Regions from separate parts of the Homo sapiens genome. Here regions 1, 2, 3, 4, 5 and 6 are each linked to region 7. The links are contacts of gene promoters, found by promoter capture Hi-C in blood cells and fetal thymus (Javierre and others, 2016). All regions are on one chromosome and are shown on one strand. The core of a region is centred on a gene start or on the middle of the fragment in contact, and the rest is flanking DNA. Distances in the headings are between cores, read along the strand shown. Region 1 holds the start of TFE3 (transcription factor binding to IGHM enhancer 3). Region 2 holds the start of RBM3 (RNA binding motif protein 3). Region 3 holds the start of PORCN (porcupine O-acyltransferase). Region 4 holds the start of GRIPAP1 (GRIP1 associated protein 1). Region 5 holds the start of WDR45 (WD repeat domain 45). Region 6 overlaps OTUD5 (OTU deubiquitinase 5). Region 7 holds the start of NDUFB11 (NADH:ubiquinone oxidoreductase subunit B11).

Region 1 (2,700 bases), core at 57-2,556, 1.9 Mb after region 7:
ACAGAAGTTGGAAGAGATGGGCACTGGGGTGAGCAGGGAGGGCTGGGGCTCCAAAGCCCATTGATGAAAGTAAGGATGAGAAGAGGCCAGAGGGGATCCACCCAGGCAGGGATGGTGCAATCTGTACTCGTTCCAGCTCTATGGACAGATTCAAGATTACCCCCAGGAGCTCGGAGATCGAAAAGAAGATAAAAAGAAAAGGGGTGTGGGGCTAGGGAGTGGGAAGGGCTGAGAGGCTAGAGCGAGTAGCAGCATGAACAAGAGCCTCCTCTGGGTTCCCAAACAAGGTCTGAGGCCTCTGAGCTAAGAGGTAACATCATCGCCCTCTGCCTGGCTGTCTATCTTCCATTCAGGCCCTTAACAGGTGTGGGAAGAGGGCTTTTCCACTATCCTTGGGATCTGCCCCAGCTGGGTAGGCGGGCAGAGGGGAAAGGATTATTCTGGTCAAGTCTTGCTGAATGTTGCTTCTCTTGTTCATTCACACGCACTCACAAGGCTGGTCCCAGGCAGCATATCTGAGATACCTCCAAATCCCTCCAGATTCATGTTATCCCCAAACACAGCAACCAGTCACTGAGAGGCACCAAGCTCCCAAGACAGCACTTCTGTCCCTCAGGACCCCTTCTCCCACACTGAGGGAAAAAAGATTCTAGGATTCCCTTAAAACCAGTGCCTCACCTGACAGTGTCCCCTCAAATTCATTCCCCTCATGTCCGACTGAAAATCCCCGAATTCAGCCTCTAATCAGAGACCCTGTCTACCAAGTTCAGCTATCTCAGACCAGTTTCTGGATACTCCAGAATAGGCCCCTCTAGACGCAGTCAAGGGCTCCCCAAACCTGACCCAGACCCCGCTTAATGCACTCCCACGACTCCTTTAATAAAGCCACAATCCAAGCAGGCCACTGCCGGATTCCTTAGGTGCCCCCCCAAGACGGGCGCCCCGACGTCCTCCAAGGCTAGGCCGAGGGCCTCCAATCCCAGTCCGGGGCCCCCACTGCCCCCGAGATCAGGCCCCTGGGAGCCCCAGTCGGCACTCCCAGCCCCAGGCGGCCCCGCACCTGAGCAGCTGAGCCGAGTCGGCCGGCCTGCGCTCCTCCAACAGCACGAACACGGCTCGAGGGCCCTCCGCGCTGGCCTCTACGCCATCCCGAGCTGGTTCGGCCGCATGAGACATGACGCCCGGCCCCGGGCGAGCCCTGCCAGGCCGGTCGGGCCTCGGCCCGGTCCCCCTAACAAAATAAGAGTCCCCCCTCCCCCCAGCTCGCCACCGCCGCCTCCTCCGCTAAGCCATGGAGCTAGCACTGCGCGGGCGGGCGGCGTCGGGGAGATGGGATGGGCTGTGAGTCATCCCCCGCCCAGAACGGACCGACGCCCCCCCTCAACCTAACCCCGGACGACCGCCCTCCTCCCCCTCGTCTTCTTCCCCCTCCTCCCTCCTCCCAGGGATGGGGAAACTCCACAGGAAGTGACCGCACTGGGGATGGATGGCCCGTCTGGCCACGACCCATTAGCGAGGCGGCCAATCGCTGAACGGCGATTCGAGGGCCCACCCTAAGCGACGCCTCCGACGCGGAGGAAAAACGCGATTCGGCCCGCCCTCATTCCGAGAAGCAGCACCCAGACCACGCCCTCAGGGGCAGCGACAAATAGGCGAGGGTTGATTTGGTTGAACCACGCCTCTATGTTTGCGTCGCTTTCGGAGCCACGCCCTCTCTTCTCAAATTATCCCTCTGCAAGGTAATATTAAGCCGCTCCTTGGGTCCTCTGCGCCTGCGCATCGATGGCCAGTCGGCGCACGGAGGGTCTCCTGGCCAAGCTTTTAGCTGCGGAACCGCGCCCTCTTTCGGCCAATATTTGTAATATCTGAGCCCTAGACCGCGCTCCAACCTCGATCTGGCTGTGCTCTCTCAGCCAAAGCCATAACTATGAGGCAGAGGCAGCTACATTCCCTGAAGGTGCGGGCCAGAAACCCCCCCCTTTCGCTGTCCGCAGTCCAGCCGCCCAGCTGGTCTTCCGGGAGTATTCCGCCTGTTCCATGCCATCGAGAGCGGTTGTACTATGTTCATTGCGCTGCGCAATATGTGCTTAATAAATTCTTGACGGGTGAATGAATCTGGTCCCTTCGGTGAATGACGACTTCTGGAATCACAAAGATCCAGGTTTGAATAGGGAAGGGGACCTCCCCTCTCCCAGCCTCAGCTTTCCTGGCCTGTTAAATGGGGGTCAAAATACCTGTCTGGCAGGGTTGTTCTGAGGATTAAAGATAATGTATGAAAAGTGCTAGCAGGTTGTTTGGCATACAAGAAGCTTCCCAAAATTAGTTGATTCACTCATTTGTTCACTTATTCAACATTCACTGAGCGCTTCTGTATGCCAGACGCATGCAAGCCGGCTCGCACAAGGCGGAGGGTCTCACTCATATATCCTCAGGTGCAAATAGCTCACAAAACACCCAGACCTACAGCCTTCCCTTCCTCTTTCCTGACATCCCAAGACCCCACCCTGAGTTGCGCCTCCAGGAATTTCACCGGGCTTTCATTTACCTTGGACCTTCCTGTATTGGCATCATTATTTCACAGGTCTGTCAGTTGCTTTCGTAAACTCATCCATACTCACACACAACCATCTCGTACAAGGGGGAAACCTCTACATAATAAAGATGACTTCTGGCCGGGCGCGGTGGCTCATGCCTGTAATC
Region 2 (2,700 bases), core at 61-2,560, 1.4 Mb after region 7:
CAAGCGATTATCCCGCCTCAGCCTCCTGAGTAGCTGGGACTACAGGTGCCTACCACCACGCCCGGCTAATTTTTTTTTTTTTTTGTATTGTTAGTAGAGACAGGGTTTCACCATATTGGCCAGGGTAGTCTTGAACTCCTGACCTTGTGATCTGCCCACTTCGGCCTCCCAAAGTGCTGGGATTACAGGCATGAGCCACTGCGCCCGGCAAGGGCTCAGTTACTTTCGAAGAGAGCAAAAATTGCTCTATGGATTGGGATTTACAACCTCTGAAGATCGTAGCATCCTCTTTTGTTTTGTTTTGTTTTCACCCAGGCTGGAGTGCAATGGCGTGGTCTCGGCTCACTGCAACCTCCGCCTCCCGGGTTCAAGCGATTTTCCAGCCTCAGCCTCCCGAGTAGGTGGGACTACAGGCACGTGCCACCACACCCAGCTAATTTTTTTTTTCTTTTTTTTTTTTTTTTTTTTTTTTTGTATTTTTAGTAGAGATGGGGTTTCACCATGTTGGCCATGCAGGTCTCGAACTCCTGAACTCGTGAACCGCCCGCTTTGGCCTCCCAAAGTGCTGGGAATACAGGCGTGAGCCACCGCGCCCGGCCAGCATCCTGTTTTGTAAAAGCCATCTCAGGCAGTCTATTGGTGAGAAAATTAAGGGGCTGGCTTCACGCCAGCAGTCAGACAAGGGTGAGGGCTGAAGTCAGAGATGAGATGGAATGACGCCAGGGAAAAGGGTCCCATGACAGGCGGCTAGATGTTGAGCACAGAGGAGAAAGAGTAGGAGTCAGGGTCAAACCTTAAAACGTTGGGTCTGACATCATGGACTGTGAAGGGTGATGACATCAGTGACGGTGGGGGATAAAATGTCAGGCCTTTAAAGGGTATGAGGTTAAAGAACTAGAAGGTGAAGGAGGTTAACATCAGAGAATGGCAGGGACCTAGAGGAAGACGACTACGATGGTGAGGAAGACATCCGATCCAGCGGGGGAAATGATGGCAAGGACGGGAGGATGATGTCAGGGACAGCAAGTAGTATGAGATTGAGAAGGTTCCTTTGTGGAAGGGATAAAGGCAGCTCAGCCGGTTGTGGGGGGGATGCTGACGTTTAGGGTGCACCAGCTGTTCAAAAGTCGACCCCATTTCCGGAAACACCCCATTTCCGGAAACACCCCATTTCGCGGAGAACACTGCTCCCTTCGCTTTGCTGTCCCTTCCTCTCCCCACCACTCCGCTCCTGCTGGCCTCAGCCAATCAGCACGCACGCCGGGACGCGCAAGGGGAACGTTCCGGGACGTTCTCGCTACGTACTCTTTATCAATCGTCTTCCGGCGCAGCCCCGTCCCTGTTTTTTGTGCTCCTCCGAGCTCGCTGTTCGTCCGGGTTTTTTACGTTTTAATTTCCAGGTAAGTTGCATATGTCCTGCGAAACGGCGGCTCCTCGCCACACACGCGCCGCGCCGGCCGTGACCGGGGAATAGCGAGTGGGGAGAGTAATGGCCACTGACACGTAGGCTTGGCTTTCTCTGGGACGGGCGGGTCCCGTGCTTGGAGGTGAAACATTTCGGTTGGTGGGAGGCCGGCGCGCTGTATCTGAGTGTGAGGCCTACCGGGAGGGACTGGTGGCGTCGGTGGTGGCAGTGACCACGCGACAGCCGACACTTACTTTCCTTATCCCACGTGGCCGCCGCCATCTTGTTCTGCCGGCGTTAAGGGAACGCAGGGATGTTCTGGGCTTGCGCAGTGGCACAAAATGACGGGCGTGGCGGCTATGAATGTGAGAGCATGCGCAATGTGGCCCCCTAATGGTGGCTGCGCTGAGCCAGCTCCTCAGATTACCACCTTATTGGCCGCCTTTCTCAGCTTTTCTGTAGTTACCCATATTTTGTTCCTCTTTCTTGTCTATTTTCTGTGCTTTTTCTCTGCTTTCCGTCTCGCTATTTTCTCACATCTCCATTTTCTTTCTCCTTCCTGCCACCATTCTTCATGTTCTTCCCACAGGACTTGAACTGCCATGTCCTCTGAAGAAGGAAAGCTCTTCGTGGGAGGGCTCAACTTTAACACCGACGAGCAGGCACTGGAAGACCACTTCAGCAGTTTCGGACCTATCTCTGAGGGTGAGACGGGCCATACTCACAATGGGGGTTGGTGAGAGAAAGTCTGGGATCCTTGCATTTCAAGGAGTATTAACTGAAAAGTTAGGACCCACGCCTCCAAATTCTTTTTCTTCCTAAGCCTATGGTGTAGACTAAGGATGAGGGGAAGCGTCTTTGGGATTAGTGGGAGCGCTCCGTTTTCCCTACCTATGCCATCTCCTTTTCCGGCCACCCTTTGCTACTTAACCTTTGGGGTACTGACTGGTCCACATTGCTCCATCTTCTCTCCCTCTCACAGTGGTCGTTGTCAAGGACCGGGAGACTCAGCGGTCCAGGGGTTTTGGTTTCATCACCTTCACCAACCCAGAGCATGCTTCAGTTGCCATGAGAGCCATGAACGGAGAGGTGGGGCCTCCTATCTGCAGAGGGACCTTGTCCCCATCTGCGGCTTCCTTCATTCTTTTTGTTTTTCCCTCTGTGTCTGCTCGGGGCAGCGTGGCCACCAAGCCCCGCAGTGCCCACTCACAGGAGCATGACTGCCTTTTGTTCTAGGGGGTGGAGGGCAGCGGCAGACAGAGCCTGGCCGCCTGGGAGGCGACGACTGGTCCTGC
Region 3 (2,700 bases), core at 163-2,662, 1.4 Mb after region 7:
ACTGCAGCAGTAGGGTAGGTAGAAGGCGGGTGCTACATAAATCTTTAGTGTTGGTGCAGATAGAGGTGCGGATGGGGCCAGTGTAAGCGCTTTCTTTTTTATTTTATTTATTTATTTATTTAGAGAAGGAGTTTCGCTCTTGTTTATTTATTTATTTATTTTGGAGAAGGAGTTTTGCTCTTGTCACCCAGGCTGGAGTGCAATGGCGTGATCTCGGCTCACTGCAACCTCCGTCTCCTGGGCTCAAGTGATTCTCCTGCCTCAGCCTCCGGAGTAGCTGGGATTACAGGCGCCCAGCTAAATTTTTTGTATTTTTAGTAGAGACAGGGTTTCGCCATATTGGCCAGCCTGGTCTCAAACTCATGACCTCAGGTGATCCATCCGCCTCGGCCTTCCAAAGTGCTGGGTTACAGGTGTGAGCCACCACGCCCAGTCTTTATTTATTTATTTTGAGACGGAGTTTCGCTCTTGTAGCCCACAATGACGCGATCTTGGCTCACTGCAACCTCTGCCTCCTGATTCTCCTGCTTTAACCTCCCGAGTAGCTGGGATTACAAGCGTGCGCCACCACGCCTGGCTAATTTTTGTATTTTTAGTAGAGACGGGGTTTCGCCATGTTGGCCAGGCTGGTCTCGAACTCCTGACCTCAAGCTATCCTCCTACCCTTGGCCTCCCGAAGTGCTGGGTTTATAGGCGTGAGCCACCGAGCCTGGCCCTTAAGAGCTTTATAAATGCCCCCCTTTTAAGTGCTCGGTACTAGCCTCCCTCTAGTTCACAGAGAACATTTACTAGTCGCTGGGGTCACCTTCGAAGCAAAGAGTCTGCTGGGGAATTAAGCATGCAAATCACTTCTCAACGACGACACGCCAAGTGCTCACAGCTCGTCCCCAGGGGAAGCACAGGCGCCTAATTTGTGTTCCTAGGTGACACAGTCATTACTTATAAATGTTCCTGGCCGGTCCCAGGAGGTGGGAGGGTTGGGAGTTACTTCGGTTCTCTCAAAGGTTGGGGAAGGAGAGATCTCGGTTTGTTTTCCCATCTGTGAAACGGGGACACCACGGTATTTAGAGGACGTGCGCGGGTGACTATTTGGGGGTGCAGCGGCTTCCCTCCTCCCTCCCCCATCTTTCCCTTCTCACTTCCAAGGCTTGGAAATTTGGAGATTCGGAAGTTTGTTCTTGGATGGCCAGAAATCCTCCGGAGGCAGACGGTCTGGGGCTGAAACCGCCACAGGCCGGAAAGGTGCGGGCGTGAACGTCCTGCGCGCCGACGTCCCCCCGCGCCGGTCTCCCCTCAATCCTCCTGCTCCCCTCCTCCGCGTCCCCGTCCCCGCCCCCCTCCTGCTCTCCCATTGGCCGAGCCGGCGGCCGGGCCGCCCCGGGATTTAAAGGGCCCGCTCGCCGCGCCGCTCTGGGAGCCGCTGCTGGTCCCGGCCTTGCGGCCTGCGGGGGAGGCTGCCCGGAGGAGGCAGCGGCGGCGGCAGCGCGTCCTCGGTCCCCAGGACCACGGCTTCTTTCCTGCCAGGTAGGTCGCCAGTAGTGCGCACGCGGCTCCCCAGCTCCCATCCCTGGGCCGGCCTCCCCAGGCGGATCTGTAGCGCGAGTGCTAGGACCCCCTCCCCATCACCTTTCCGACTCTCCCTCAGGCTATGTCTCCTACCACCACCTCCTTGCAGCCCCCGGACCTGGGCAGGACTTTGTTGGCGGCCTCTCGCCGGGTGGGGATGAGATGGGGGGCGCGGAGGATACAGGACACCCCCCCTCCCCGTGCCGCCGCATCCATACAAGGAGAGATGCACACGGCCCCCAAGTGTCACAGAATCCCCCTCTCTGCCCTCCACTCAGAGCGACTCTACCTTGGAAACCAGGGATTCCCCTTCCCGTCGCCCGCCCCATTTGATATATGGGCCTGAAATGTATGCCATCCCATCACCATCGGACTGGACTGTTCACAGCACTGGAGAGACAGAGGTCCTTCATTCACTCCAGGTCACAGGCTGTGCGTGTGCATGCCGAACACCCACATGCACACAGTTGGTGGCTCAGTCTGATGTACCTGACTTCTCACGCCTTCCCCCAGTCCTCCAGTACCGTGCCTCTACATGGGCTGGGCAGCCCCAAACTGAAATGTGAGTGCCAGAGTGCATCCTTTAAGCGAGGTCTGCCCCACGGACACCCGCTCCCTCTGTGTCCCTGCTTTGACAGATCTATCCATCTGGCCATCCATCCGTGGGGGTCTGCAATGGCCACCTTTAGCCGCCAGGAATTTTTCCAGCAGCTACTGCAAGGCTGTCTCCTGCCTACTGCCCAGCAGGGCCTTGACCAGATCTGGCTGCTCCTTGCCATCTGCCTCGCCTGCCGCCTCCTCTGGAGGCTCGGTAAGTGCCTGCCATACCGTGTGCCACCATGCCAGGCCATATCAGACCTCCCACATTCATCCATATCGAGCCACACCTTACCCTGTCACATCCTGCCAGGCCCTAGCATGTCCAAGCTGGACCCCAACATGTTCAGCCCCACCACATCCCACCAGGCCAAACCCCATTCCACCATACCACATCCTACTATGCCAGCCACCCCATGCCATGCCACACCGAGCCACATCCTGCCATGCCAAGCCATGCCCTTCAGTATTCCTGAGTTCTGGGATTCCAGAAAGCTGAGATTCTTGGATCTTGGGATTCTGAAATGTCTACATCCC
Region 4 (2,700 bases), core at 142-2,641, 1.9 Mb after region 7:
GTCTGCTCAAGGTCAGAGGGCTTGGCCTTCACAGAATCTTTCCTACTCCTGTCCTCTCCAGGACCCAGTGATCTGTCTCTCCAAGTACTGGTCCAAGTGGAATATCCTTTGTACCCCCCGAGACTTGCCCCCCAACAAAGCCCAGTAGTTCTCCCTCATTCATGGCCCAGTGGGATCAATGTTCCTCATTCAAGGGTATTCCCACTCCCCTCAAGATCTCCCCAGTCATGATCCATTGGGAATGGCCCTACACCCTTCAGGGTAGGCCTCTACAAGGCCTTGGGTAGGCCAGTTGGATGACTCTTACTCACTTAGAATCCCTTTCAGATGACAGTGGTCTTCCCCATTCATGGGTTAATCAACTCGCCCTTCCATTCTCAGTGTCCCTCACACAGGGACAGCTGGTTTCCCTCATTCAAGGACCAATTGGATTACCTGTCCTCCCTCAGAGTTCCTCCCCTCCCCATGCAGGACCCTGTTCAGACCCCCCCCCCAGTGAGGAACCCTCTCAACAAGGGCCCATTCATAGTGCAATGCTATGGCCTTTCATTGCATCTCAGAGTCCCCCCAAAAGAATCAAGTGGGGGTACCTCCCCAAAGCCCAGTGATCTTCCCTCCTTGTAGTCCAAGGTATCAATCTTTTACCCCTCTGGTCCTCCCCCCAGTTAATGGGATTAATGGTATTACCCATTCATGGCCTTCTTCACCCCAGGCCTAATGGGATCACCCTTAATCATCCAATGGTGCCGCCCCCTCTTAGGATGCACTACCAACCACCAATGGCACAGGATCTCCACCTCCCAGGAACAATGACAACATCTGGGGTCTTTCCCCAATCCCCGGGCACAGTGGTATCTCCCCCAAAACTTACCACCTCCCACCCGCTAATGGTTCTGCCCTCTCAAGGGCTCCCACCACCATGACGCAAACGACCCAACACCCGCTTCCTTCCTCTCCAGACAAAATGGTTTCGCCTTCTCAGGATCTCCTTCCCTCAAAGCCCATTATCATCACCCGCCGACGGTGTCCCCTGCACGGGCCCAAAAGTCTCGTCCCCTCCAGGTCTGAGTAAGGTACCGCCTACTTAATGGCGCTCTCCCAGCCCACAATGCTAACAGAGTCCAACCTTCAAAGCCGCAGAGTATCTCGGAATCCAATAGTCTCACCACTCCGAGCCTCAGTTTCCCTTCTCCAGACCCACCCCATAAACTCAGGGTCCATCCCAACCAACCCCTTCTCAGAGCTGATAGCACGACCTCTCGCTACCCCGCCCCCGGTCGCCTAGCCGGGTGGTCTTTCCCACCGCGAGCGGCACCTGCATCCGCTGAAACTCCTCCTCAGACAGAGCTTGCGCCATGTTCCTCCCCCCACCCCCCCGCCAGCTTTCTGCGCAGACGCAGCTCGCGCCTCCTGGCAGTATTAAGGTCGGACCAAACCACTGGCCAGGAATGGAGGGGGTAGAACCTAATTCCGAAGGGCAGCATTTTGGAGACGCAGAGAAGAGAACGAAACCGACGAGTCAGGTGAACTGTAATACAACGTTCTACCCGAATGTAAGTCATCTGATTGGCTTTTGGACTCTTCTAGGCCACCCATTGTGATACGACATTATTACATCCCCGTTTCATGGGTGGACTCGTCGCTAGGGAAGTCTTTGCCGACAGAAAATCACCCTTCCGCGGTATTCCTTTAATGAGAATGGGTAACTTAATAACCATAGAAATGAAAGCGGAAGCTTCGCTCTGGTCTTGTTCCCGCCCCTCCTCCGGGAGACCCCAAAGGGGAATCCCACCTCTTGTAAAGCCTTTGGCCTTTTTTTTTTTTTTTTTTTTTAAGGTTTGACACTTATTTTGTTATCATGATACTGCATGTCACGTTAGGTAAAGGACTTAGCCACCAATAAAAATAGCAGAGTGGAAAGAGTGACAGTGAATCAAACGAAAAAGCTACATTAAAACAAAACAAAAACAAAAAACAAACCAGGGTGGTGAAACACCAGGCTCATTCAAGTATTAGAATTCACTATAACCCTCACCGATCTGAGAGTAAGAAATGGTATCTCAGTGTAGTTTTTTTCTTATTTTCTTTTTTCTTTCTGTTTTTGTTGTTGTTGTTGTTGTTGTTTTTCTTTTTTGAGACGGAGTTTCACTTTTGTTGCCCAGGCTGGAGTGCAGTGGCACGATATCCGATCACAGCAACCTCCGCTTGGCGAGTTCAAGCGATTCTCCTGCCTCAGCCTCCCGAGTAGCTGGGATTACAGGCGCCCGCCACCTCGTCCGGGTAATTTTTTTTTTTTTTTTTAGTAGAGACGGGGTTTCTCCATATTGGTCAGGCCGGTCTCGAACTCCCGACCTCAGGTAGTCCGCCCGCCTCGGCCTCCCAGAGTGCTGGGATTAAGGCGTGAGCCACCGCGCCCAGCCTTCTTATTTTCGTAGAATTTAATGATTTCCCTGCTGTGGAAAAATATTTCCAGCAGGGCCGGGCGCGGTGGCTCACGCCTGTAATCCCAGCACTTTGGGAGGCCAAGGAGGGCTGTTCACTTGCGGTCAGGAGTTCGAGACTAACCTGGCCAACATGGTGAAACCCCATCTCTACTAAAAACACAAAAATTGGCCGGGTGTGGTGGTGGGCGCCTGTAATCCCAGCTACTCGGAAGGCTGAGGCACGAGAATCGCTTGAACCCGCCAGGCAGAGGTTGCG
Region 5 (2,700 bases), core at 196-2,695, 1.9 Mb after region 7:
AACCCGAGAGGCTGAGATGGCAGTGAGCCGAAATCGAGCCATTGCATTCCAGCCTGGGTGACAGAGCGAGACTCCGTCTCGGGGGGAAGAAAAAGATAAAAACAGAGAGTCCCAGGGTCTCTGCTCTAAGCTCCCAAGATCCCAAACAACATGGCCAGGAACCCTCCTTCTTTCAGGTTTGGCAAGCTCCAGGCCCACACTGACGTGGACCCCACACCTCCTCTTTACATGCTGGCCCTCACTGACTTGTCAGGAAGTAATGTGATAGGGGGTGCCCCCGTGATATCTCCTCCCCACCGCCAGCCAATCTTGATCCCAATGCCAGACATGGCCTGGAACCACTCCCAACCCATTTCTCATCTTCAAACCTGACCTAGCACCGGACTCTCTCAATAAATAGACAAAAGTGGGCTAGGAGATGCACTTCTTGTACCTCCCTGACTTGGCCCTGGGACTGCTATGCTTGGTCTGCCATCCCCAGGAACTCCTCTGCTCATACCCTTCTAACTGTACCCCAACCTATTTGACCACCCCAGAGTCCTCTCACACCTTTCCCCCTCAACCGGCTTCCCCAAACTCCTTCAGGATGCCTACCTTGGGATGACCCCTTCTCATGCCTTGGTAACTACCCTTCAGGGCCAGCCTAGACATTCCCTTAGATTGGCTTATGCCCTGGGGACTCTACCCTAGGATTCCCCCTAGCACTCTAAATTTTCCACCCCTGGGACATCTCCTTCCTTGTGTTCTGCTGTCCTTGACTACAACATAACCTGGCCTGGACCCAACCCCAGGAACCCCCCCCATCCTCCTAAGATTCCCCCTCTAGACCCCTATCCAAGACCCCGCCCCAGGGCACCCTTGCCTTCTAAGACCCTTGCCCAAAACAAACCACCCAAAACTCCTACCTAGGAGAACCTCAACCCCTAAGATGCCTGCGCAGTCCCCTACTAAGATTACTGCCATAGAGCCCCCAACTTCCCTTCAAATCCTCAACTCCCCAATAACTCTGGCCAGACATACTCCCTCCCCCATCCTCCAAGAGTCCAAATCTCCTTCCTTTCTTTCAGTTACACCCTCCACTGGAATGCCTCATGCTCTTTCTTTGGACAGCTCTGCCTTAGAGTTATTCTCTGGACAGCTCCAACTTTCAACACCCCTTTTTTGCACCTCCATTCCAAGACTCTGTCCGGGATGCCTCGCCCCTCTCCCAAGACCAGCCGCATGCTCCTTCCAACGCCAGCACCCACTCAAGACCTCTGCCTTAGACCCCTACTCGAAAGACTTCCAGCCTCCCCCAGACCCAACCAACCCTGGGATCGTGCTCCAGCTTCCTGCCGCCTTCACCGGCCTGACCTCCGCGTGTCCCTGACCCGGGCCCCAGCTGTCGGTGCCGCCCGCGGCCCGGTTTTCTGACCTCCCGGGCCTTGGAGCCCGGCTCGGGTGTTTACATCAGGCCCTACTTCCGGGGGAGGGAGCCTGTCGCAGGAAATGACTCACCCCAGCTGGAAAAAGGCGGCCACCGCCTTCCTCGCCTAGTTCCCGGGTCTTCGGAGCATCGCGAGTGACAGTGGGGTTCTCCGGGGAGGGCGCGGGGAGCGGAGGAAGGTTGGCTGGGGGACCGGAGGCGAAGGGGGTTCCTCAAGGCCGAGACTGTCTGAGGGAACCCGGAAGGGTGGGGAGAGAGAGCGTGCCTTGCCCCCAGCAAAGCGAAACCGGCCAAGCCCTCAGCCCCTTGGTCACCCACAATGGGGGAGTAAACCTTCCCTGCTAACAAGACGCGGACCTCCGCGGCGGCCGAGAGTAGCCGCCCCGGTTCGCAACACACAGTCCTCCCAGGCTTCCAGAGGGGCGGCGCTGGGGGTTACAGGCGGGGGCGGACCTGGAGACCTTGAAAGTGGAGAAACCTCCTTGGCTCCGGGAAGCCAAGGAACAGATTTCGCTTTCTTTCTCCCCACCCTGTCCCCCCAACCCCGCCAGCTCTGAGTTTTGTCTTTTGTGTTTTGTTTAGTTTTGTTTTCTGAGACAGAGTCTCGCTCTGTCTCCCAGGCTGGAGTGCAGTGGCGCGATCTCGGCTCACTGCAACCTCCGCCTCCCGGGTTCAAACGGTTATCCTGCCTCAGCCTCCGGAGTAGCTGGGACTGCAGGCGTGCGCCACCACGCCCATCTAATTTTTGTATTTTTAGTAGAGACGGGGTTTCACCATGTTGGTCAGGCTGGTCTCGAACTCTTGACCTCAGGTTATCCACCCACCTCGGCCTCCCAAAGTGCTGGGATTACAGGCTTAAGCTACCACGCCCGGCCTCTGCTTTTATTTTTACAAAATACAAAATAGCTTTTTGATAGTAAAAGGTATGAATGCTTTGGGTTAAAAAAAAAAAAAAAAAGAGGTCCTACCTATGATAAAGCTTTTAAAAAAAGGCCCCAAATTATATGCATACTGGAAGGAATTTTTTTTTTTTTTTTTTTTTTTGATTAACAGAGTTTGGCTCTTTTTGCCCAGGCTGGAGTGCAATTAGCGCGATCTTGGCTCACCACAACCTCCGCCTCCCGGGTTCAAGGGATTCTTCTGCCTCAGCCTCCCCAGCCTCCCAAGTAGCTGGGATTACAGGCATGTGCCACCACGCCCAGCTAATTTTGTATTTTTAGTAGAGACCGGGTTTCTCCCTGTTGATCAGTCTGGTCTTGAACTCCTGACCTCAG
Region 6 (2,700 bases), core at 193-2,692, 1.8 Mb after region 7:
CAAAAGCAGTTCAAAACTTATTATATGACCTAGAGGTGAGAAGCAAGCATAGCTAGGTCAGGGAGAGACTCGGAATCGCTCTTGGTTTCAGAAGGGAGGCTCCAGACTCCATGTCCCCAGGACCTGACAATCTTCTCATAGAAAGTAGGAGGACCTTCTTGGCCCTGGCCACGAGGGAGCTCTGGATAAGGGGTTCATATGACCCTGAAGAGCATCCAGGTCCTTCTGTCCAATGGGAGAGGATGACCTCACGTTCCTCTCCCTGGACAGAAAGGATTGCCTGGTGTGGTAGGAGGAGAGCCTCATGCCCAAGTGGGAGCCAGGCCCCCAGTCCCTAAGGCAAACGGTATCTTGTCCCAGAGAGAAAGCTTGGGCCCAGACTCTTTTCCTCAGAATCCTACCCTATTCATGTCCCCAAAAGGAGTTGGGAGTCTAAGGCCCAAGTCCCCGAGGCAGGAAGTCTTATGTCCCTAAATGACCCCTAAGACTAGGGTGTATGTAAGTTGTCTGAGGTGAGGTGACAGTACCCTCAGGGCAGGTTCAGAAATCAGGTCCTAAGGTGGGGAACAGGCCTTCACACACCTGAGTTATGATTCAAACCCTTGGAGGTAGACTCAGGACCCTGTTCCACAGGGATCCTTTATCCATGCCCCAAGGGAAGAGTCTCAGGGCTCAGGTCTGGGGGGAGGAGTCCTCCTGTTTCTCAGGTGTACATCTTAAGTTCCTTGAGGAGGAAGCTCAGACCTTACCTCTAGACACACAAGTCACCAAGGTATGTATGAGTCTCCTGTCCCTGAAGGAAAGCTCAAGTGTCCTTGGCAGAGTGGGTCTCAGGCCCTTAAAAGTAGGCAAAGATCTGTAGGGAGGCCCCAGACATCATCTCTGGGATCCCATGTTGCCCATGTCCCCTGAGTAGTCGTCTCAGGCTCAAGTTCCCAAGGCATGGGTCGTATGTCCCTGACAAAAAGCTTAGGCCCAAGGTGGGAGGGCCTCAAACCCCTGTTACAGAGGGGAAAATGGGATACTGTATCCCCAAGGTATGTTTCAGTTCCTTATAATTGGGGTAAAAGGGTCACATATGCTCGTGGGGTGGGGAGTCTCAGATCCCCAAAACCACTCAGACACCAGCCTTGAGAAGAAGGATCTCCTAAAGACTTCACCTTGTCTGAGACCTTTGCAGCAGGACACCAGGCCCCTGAAGAGGCCTCAGACTCGGTCTCTAAAAACCTCAGTCCATAAGCAGGTGGATCTTAGGCCCTAGGATCCAACGCTGTGAGTCTCATTTTCCTGAAGAAAGGTTCAGGCCCCTGGTGGGGGTGCTGAGGGCCCATCTCTTCTTACAAGAAGCTTAAGATCCTGAAGCGGTTCAGGCCCTTGTCTCCCAAGAGGTAGGTCTCAGGCCACTGATAGGAAATGCAGACCTTTGTCACTCAGAAAGGAGATAAGTAAAGCTGCTGGTCATTGGGTGTTGGTTTTGGTCCCTGTCCCCAAGGGCAAGGGAATCATATCTCCCTGTGAAAAGTCTTACATCCCTGGAAAAAGCTTAGAAGATCCCTATCCTTAAAGGGGGCGTGTGTGTGTGTGTGTGTGTCAGGACCTTGATTCTAGAAGCAGGACTCTCAGGCCCCTGAAGACAGACTTAGGACCCTTGAGGTCTCAGGTCTGGCTATTCAGTGGTCCTGTGCAGTGTTACCCAGCGAAGCGGGAGAGGATTGTCCTATATGCAGAGTGTCTCAGACTCTTGAAAGGGCTTAGGCTCCTTGGGGATGTTCAGCCCCGATCTCCGAGGTCTCCACCTTATTTGACTTTCCTGGAAGGGGAATCTCAAACTTCTATCCCAGAGGAAAAGAGCTCTTAAGCCACTGAACACATACCTAAGTCTCTTGGGAGACCTGAGACTCCTACTCAAGAGGGGCGCGATCCTACCTGTATCTCTTGGAGAATTCCCACCTATTGGCCCTATATGATGAGGTCCCAGGGACTGGAATGACGACTATAGACCTTAAAAGAGACCTCGGATCTTTAAGTCTGACACCTTACCGTAGGCCTCTAGCCCCAAAATCCTGGAGGGGAGGAAAGAAGGTGTCTCACATCCCTACCGCCAGAGAAGACTGTCAGGCCCAGTGAAAACGCCTAGATCCCTTGGGGCGATCTCAAACAGCCTTCCTTGAGTCCCTTCACAGTCTGGGGGTCCCATCTGCCGTGGCCGCTCACCCCTCACCCCACAGCTCTTACCTGCTCGACAGTGGCAGGGTCCATAGCCTCGATGCGTGCTGCAGCCGCCTCATACTCGTCCTCACTGTTGTAGCCTGCGCCGACCTCCTCACGCTCGGGACTGCCCCCGCCAACCGCGCCAACCCCGGGAGCTTGACGTCGCCGCTTGCTGTGCCCAGGCCCGGAGCAGCAGCCGCCCACGCCTACGGCACCACCCACACCCACCACCACGCCCGCGGCACCCACACCCGCCGCCGCTGCGCCCAGCGCGTCGCCGGGACCGCCGCCGGGACCACCTGGGCCCCCGCAAGGAGGTGGAGAAGCCTGTTGTGGCCGGGGACCCGCCACTGCACCAGGCGGCACGGCCAGCGCCCAGCGATGAAGAGCGCCCGGCGGTCCTGGTAGCGGGCCTTGAGGCGGTGGCGAAGCTCGCGGACGGGCCCCCACGACGCCGGAGTCACGGTCGCGATCGCCGCCGCCCACGCC
Region 7 (2,700 bases), core at 195-2,694:
ATATTATCTATTATACTACTTTGTATTATTGTTTTCTAATATTTTACTGTTTATTTTCTGTCTTCCCCACTATCATGTAAGCTCTATGAGAGCATGGGCTTTGTCTGATTTCCACACTGCTGTATCCCCAGGGCCCTGAACTGAGCCTGGCATACAGCAGGCCCTCAATACATATTTACAGAATGAACAAGCATCCTATATATCCAAGCCCCTTAACCAGAGGTTAGTATTGATGAAGTACTTATTATGTGCCAGTCTTTTCACATAGAAACACCTCACAATATCTCAGTGAGGTGAAACATGGCAATAATAAACACATTCTAGTGCTGAGTACATACTTACGAAGTGCCAGCTGCTGTTCTGACCATTTTTACTCATTTAATTACATGAGGCAGGTGGGGTGTCCTATTTTTTAGAAGGTGTCCTATTACTGTTCCCATCTTACAGACAAAGAAACTGAGGCACCAAGGGTTTATGCTACCAAGATCACACGGGTGGGTAACCGTCAGTGCTGCCTGATTTCACAGCGTCTGCTATTAATACAGCACAGCAGACCTGGTAGCCCTAAATTCAAATACCAGTTCCACCTCCACCATGTATTCAGTTATGTGAGCTAGGGCAATCCACTTAACATCTCTGTGCCTCAGTTTCCTCATCTGTAGGATGAGTATAATAATAGAGCCCACCTCGAAATGGGGTTTGTTTCGAGTATAAGATGAGCTAATGCATGTCAAGTGTTTAGAACACAGACGGGGCCCGGAGCGGTGGCTCATGCCTGTAATCCCAGCACCTTGGGAGGCCGAGGCGAGAGGATCGCTTGAGCCAGGAGTTCGAGACCAGCCTGGGCAACATAGCGAGATCTCGTCCCTATAAAAAAAAAAAAAAGAATGCAGACGGCAACGAGCAAGTGCCATATCGGTGTTTAGTATTATCGTTGTACTATACTGCTTCTAACGTGTTTTGAGCGCTGTCCACTTGAGGTGTGATTTCTGTCTGCAAAATAAAACCAATCCTGCCTCTGGCCCTGGAACGAAGATACCGAGAGACAAAGGAGGAACACAAGGTAGGCAAAATTCCCAAGTCTTCTAGGCTTTCGCCGGCCGCGCAGTCCTCTACTGCCTAAGAACGTCCTCTACAGCGCCCCATCTGCCGATCCCGGACTGACCCCTTCGGGGTTCCGTCCCCACTACCCCCCCCCCCCCCCCCGCCTCTCACCTTCTCATACAAGTTTTCGTCCTCGGGTTCTGGGTCCTCTTGCCACGGTGTGGTCGGTTCTGGGGGCCGCTTTCCCGCCACAGCGGACGGGGCGACCACAGTCCTGGAGAAGCTAGATTCCCAGCGGACGCGGGCGGCCGGGAGCCCTCGCGTCGCCGCTGCCGCCAAAAGACGGCGAGCGCTCAAACCAAACAGCCCAGCCGCCATGACAGATGGTGCTGCAGGGTCTCAGGGGCGGGGAAAGAAATGCGACTGTGCGCAGCTGCAGTGGGTGCGAGCGCGACAATCATCGCCCCGCCTCCGCCACGCTATATAGGTCCCAGATCTGATTTGGTTTTCCAATGAGGCGGGGCGTTGAGCAACCCTCTTTGCCTCCAGTTGTCGTGGCTTCGTGGGGCCAACCATTTTCGGCCAGGCTGAGAAATTTCTTATTGATGGGTCTGCTCATTTCCTGCATAGGAAGAAATCGGTGACATTTGGGTGGATACAGTTCCCAGCCAATCGCCCCGAGTTCCCTCGCCCACTGGGGAAAGAGGCAGAGCTTCCGCTAGTCTTTCATCTTCAAAGGAAATCAAGCTTCTAAAAAGCGGGCCCTGCCGAATTGGCTAATAGCTACTCCTTTTCTCCACTAGGGGAGCGTTCGCAAGGGGTGTGGGGAGGTGGCCAGCGCTTGCCAATCAGAGGAGGCCAGGGCTGTCCCCTAGCGGGCGGTGACCAATCGCCGGGGCCGGCCAGAGCGCGCTTCCTTAGTAGGTGGATGGTGGTCGGAGCGCCGACTCCCTTCTCGTCGTCGCCATTTTGAGCTGGTGACTGTGGCCGGCTGGGAGTAGGCGGCAGTGAGTTTCCCTGGGAGGGCAGCGCGCTTGGCGCTTCTCCCCTCCCCCCGATCTGCCTCCAGTCTCGGACTTGGTTGTTGCGCGCTCCGGCTCCGGCTGAGCTGGGAGAGTTGGAGGAGGTGGCGGCGGGCAGAGGTGATGTCTGGGAGCCCTTCCTTGACAGCCCGGGCCGAGAAGGTGAGCGTCGACGCTGGTCGTGGGGGCGGAGGTAAGGGGCCCGGGGCGGGGACGTAGAGGAGGCGCGAGGGCGGACTTCGGGTCGGGGGAGATGCGCGGAACGGAGGGGTTGGTGCAATGTCTCAACCCGGGAGGGTTTTTTTTTTTTTGGTTTTTTTTTTTTTTTTTTTTTTTTTTGGTGTGAGCAAAGGCGCGTGCGCGACTGGGACATGGGATGGGTGCATGCGGGTTGGGGGAAGGGAGGGACGGATGGGAGTGGGCTACTGTGGATCACTGTGTCGGCTACATCGAAGTTTATCAGTGGGGAAGCGGTTGTCTGCGACTTTGAGTTTGTGCATAGGAGAGGGGATGCTGCTCTGTGTTACTCTGGTGTTTATCGGTCCATGGGGAAATATTCTGTGGTTCTGGTCTCTATTCCTGGGGGATCGGAGGGGGGATGTGACTCTGGTCTTTACCCTTTGAGGGGGGGCGG

The links. Contacts are between HindIII fragments. The CHiCAGO score rates a contact against its expected background, and 5 or more counts as called.
Region 1: a contact is called between the fragment with the promoter of TFE3 here and the fragment with the promoter of NDUFB11 in region 7, in 5 of 17 cell types (monocytes, activated CD4 T cells, non-activated CD4 T cells and 2 more). The highest score is 9.4, in monocytes.
Region 2: a contact is called between the fragment with the promoter of RBM3 here and the fragment with the promoter of NDUFB11 in region 7, in 1 of 17 cell types (total CD8 T cells). The highest score is 6.6, in total CD8 T cells.
Region 3: a contact is called between the fragment with the promoter of PORCN here and the fragment with the promoter of NDUFB11 in region 7, in 1 of 17 cell types (activated CD4 T cells). The highest score is 6.4, in activated CD4 T cells.
Region 4: the fragment with the promoter of GRIPAP1 here is called in contact with the fragment with the promoter of NDUFB11 in region 7 in 9 of 17 cell types (total B cells, total CD8 T cells, naive CD4 T cells and 6 more); the score reaches 17.6 in total B cells.
Region 5: a contact is called between the fragment with the promoter of WDR45 here and the fragment with the promoter of NDUFB11 in region 7, in 4 of 17 cell types (neutrophils, naive CD4 T cells, non-activated CD4 T cells and 1 more). The highest score is 8.4, in neutrophils.
Region 6: a fragment that was not itself captured here is called in contact with the fragment with the promoter of NDUFB11 in region 7 in 1 of 17 cell types (non-activated CD4 T cells); the score reaches 6.8 in non-activated CD4 T cells.

Annotation. Positions count from the first base shown.
Region 1 is chrX:49,042,051-49,044,750 of GRCh38, forward strand. It overlaps TFE3 (transcription factor binding to IGHM enhancer 3), which reads right to left and starts at 1,307. Exons shown (of 10, transcript NM_006521.6): 1 at 1,061-1,307. The coding sequence starts at 1,176. RefSeq lists an enhancer at 633-1,496 and a silencer at 1,038-1,277. The HindIII fragment of the contact is 3,845 bases long and covers 1-1,816 here.
Region 2 is chrX:48,573,174-48,575,873 of GRCh38, forward strand. RBM3 (RNA binding motif protein 3) reads left to right here and starts at 1,311. Exons shown (of 7, transcript NM_006743.5): 1 at 1,311-1,400; 2 at 1,995-2,110; 3 at 2,388-2,494. The coding sequence starts at 2,008. RefSeq lists a cis regulatory region at 444-1,429 and enhancers at 1,186-2,385, 1,369-1,638. The HindIII fragment of the contact is 13,325 bases long and covers 1-2,700 here.
Region 3 is chrX:48,507,580-48,510,279 of GRCh38, forward strand. PORCN (porcupine O-acyltransferase) reads left to right here and starts at 1,413. Exons shown (of 15, transcript NM_203475.3): 1 at 1,413-1,524; 2 at 2,205-2,377. The coding sequence starts at 2,242. PORCN-DT (PORCN divergent transcript) reads right to left here and starts at 1,260. Exons shown (of 2, transcript NR_135596.1): 1 at 1,140-1,260. RefSeq lists a silencer at 1,240-1,639. The HindIII fragment of the contact is 7,257 bases long and covers 1-2,700 here.
Region 4 is chrX:49,000,873-49,003,572 of GRCh38, forward strand. GRIPAP1 (GRIP1 associated protein 1) reads right to left here and starts at 1,392. Exons shown (of 26, transcript NM_020137.5): 1 at 1,316-1,392. The coding sequence starts at 1,357. RefSeq lists an enhancer at 1,401-1,510. The HindIII fragment of the contact is 9,873 bases long and covers 1-1,733 here.
Region 5 is chrX:49,078,442-49,081,141 of GRCh38, forward strand. It overlaps WDR45 (WD repeat domain 45), which reads right to left and starts at 1,446. Exons shown (of 11, transcript NM_001029896.2): 1 at 1,310-1,446. RefSeq lists enhancers at 1,397-1,897, 1,609-1,903 and silencers at 1,609-1,903, 2,146-2,215. The HindIII fragment of the contact is 3,362 bases long and covers 1-2,403 here.
Region 6 is chrX:48,954,742-48,957,441 of GRCh38, forward strand. OTUD5 (OTU deubiquitinase 5) reads right to left here. Exons shown (of 9, transcript NM_001136157.2): 1 at 2,236-2,700. Among named protein-coding and RNA genes, the nearest start is that of OTUD5, 1.5 kb to the right of the region's middle. RefSeq lists a silencer at 2,483-2,542. The HindIII fragment of the contact is 195 bases long and covers 1,346-1,540 here.
Region 7 is chrX:47,143,258-47,145,957 of GRCh38, forward strand. NDUFB11 (NADH:ubiquinone oxidoreductase subunit B11) reads right to left here and starts at 1,445. Exons shown (of 3, transcript NM_001135998.3): 1 at 1,216-1,445. The coding sequence starts at 1,422. RBM10 (RNA binding motif protein 10) reads left to right here and starts at 1,964. Exons shown (of 24, transcript NM_005676.5): 1 at 1,964-2,228. RefSeq lists an enhancer at 1,988-2,257. The HindIII fragment of the contact is 2,886 bases long and covers 1-1,789 here.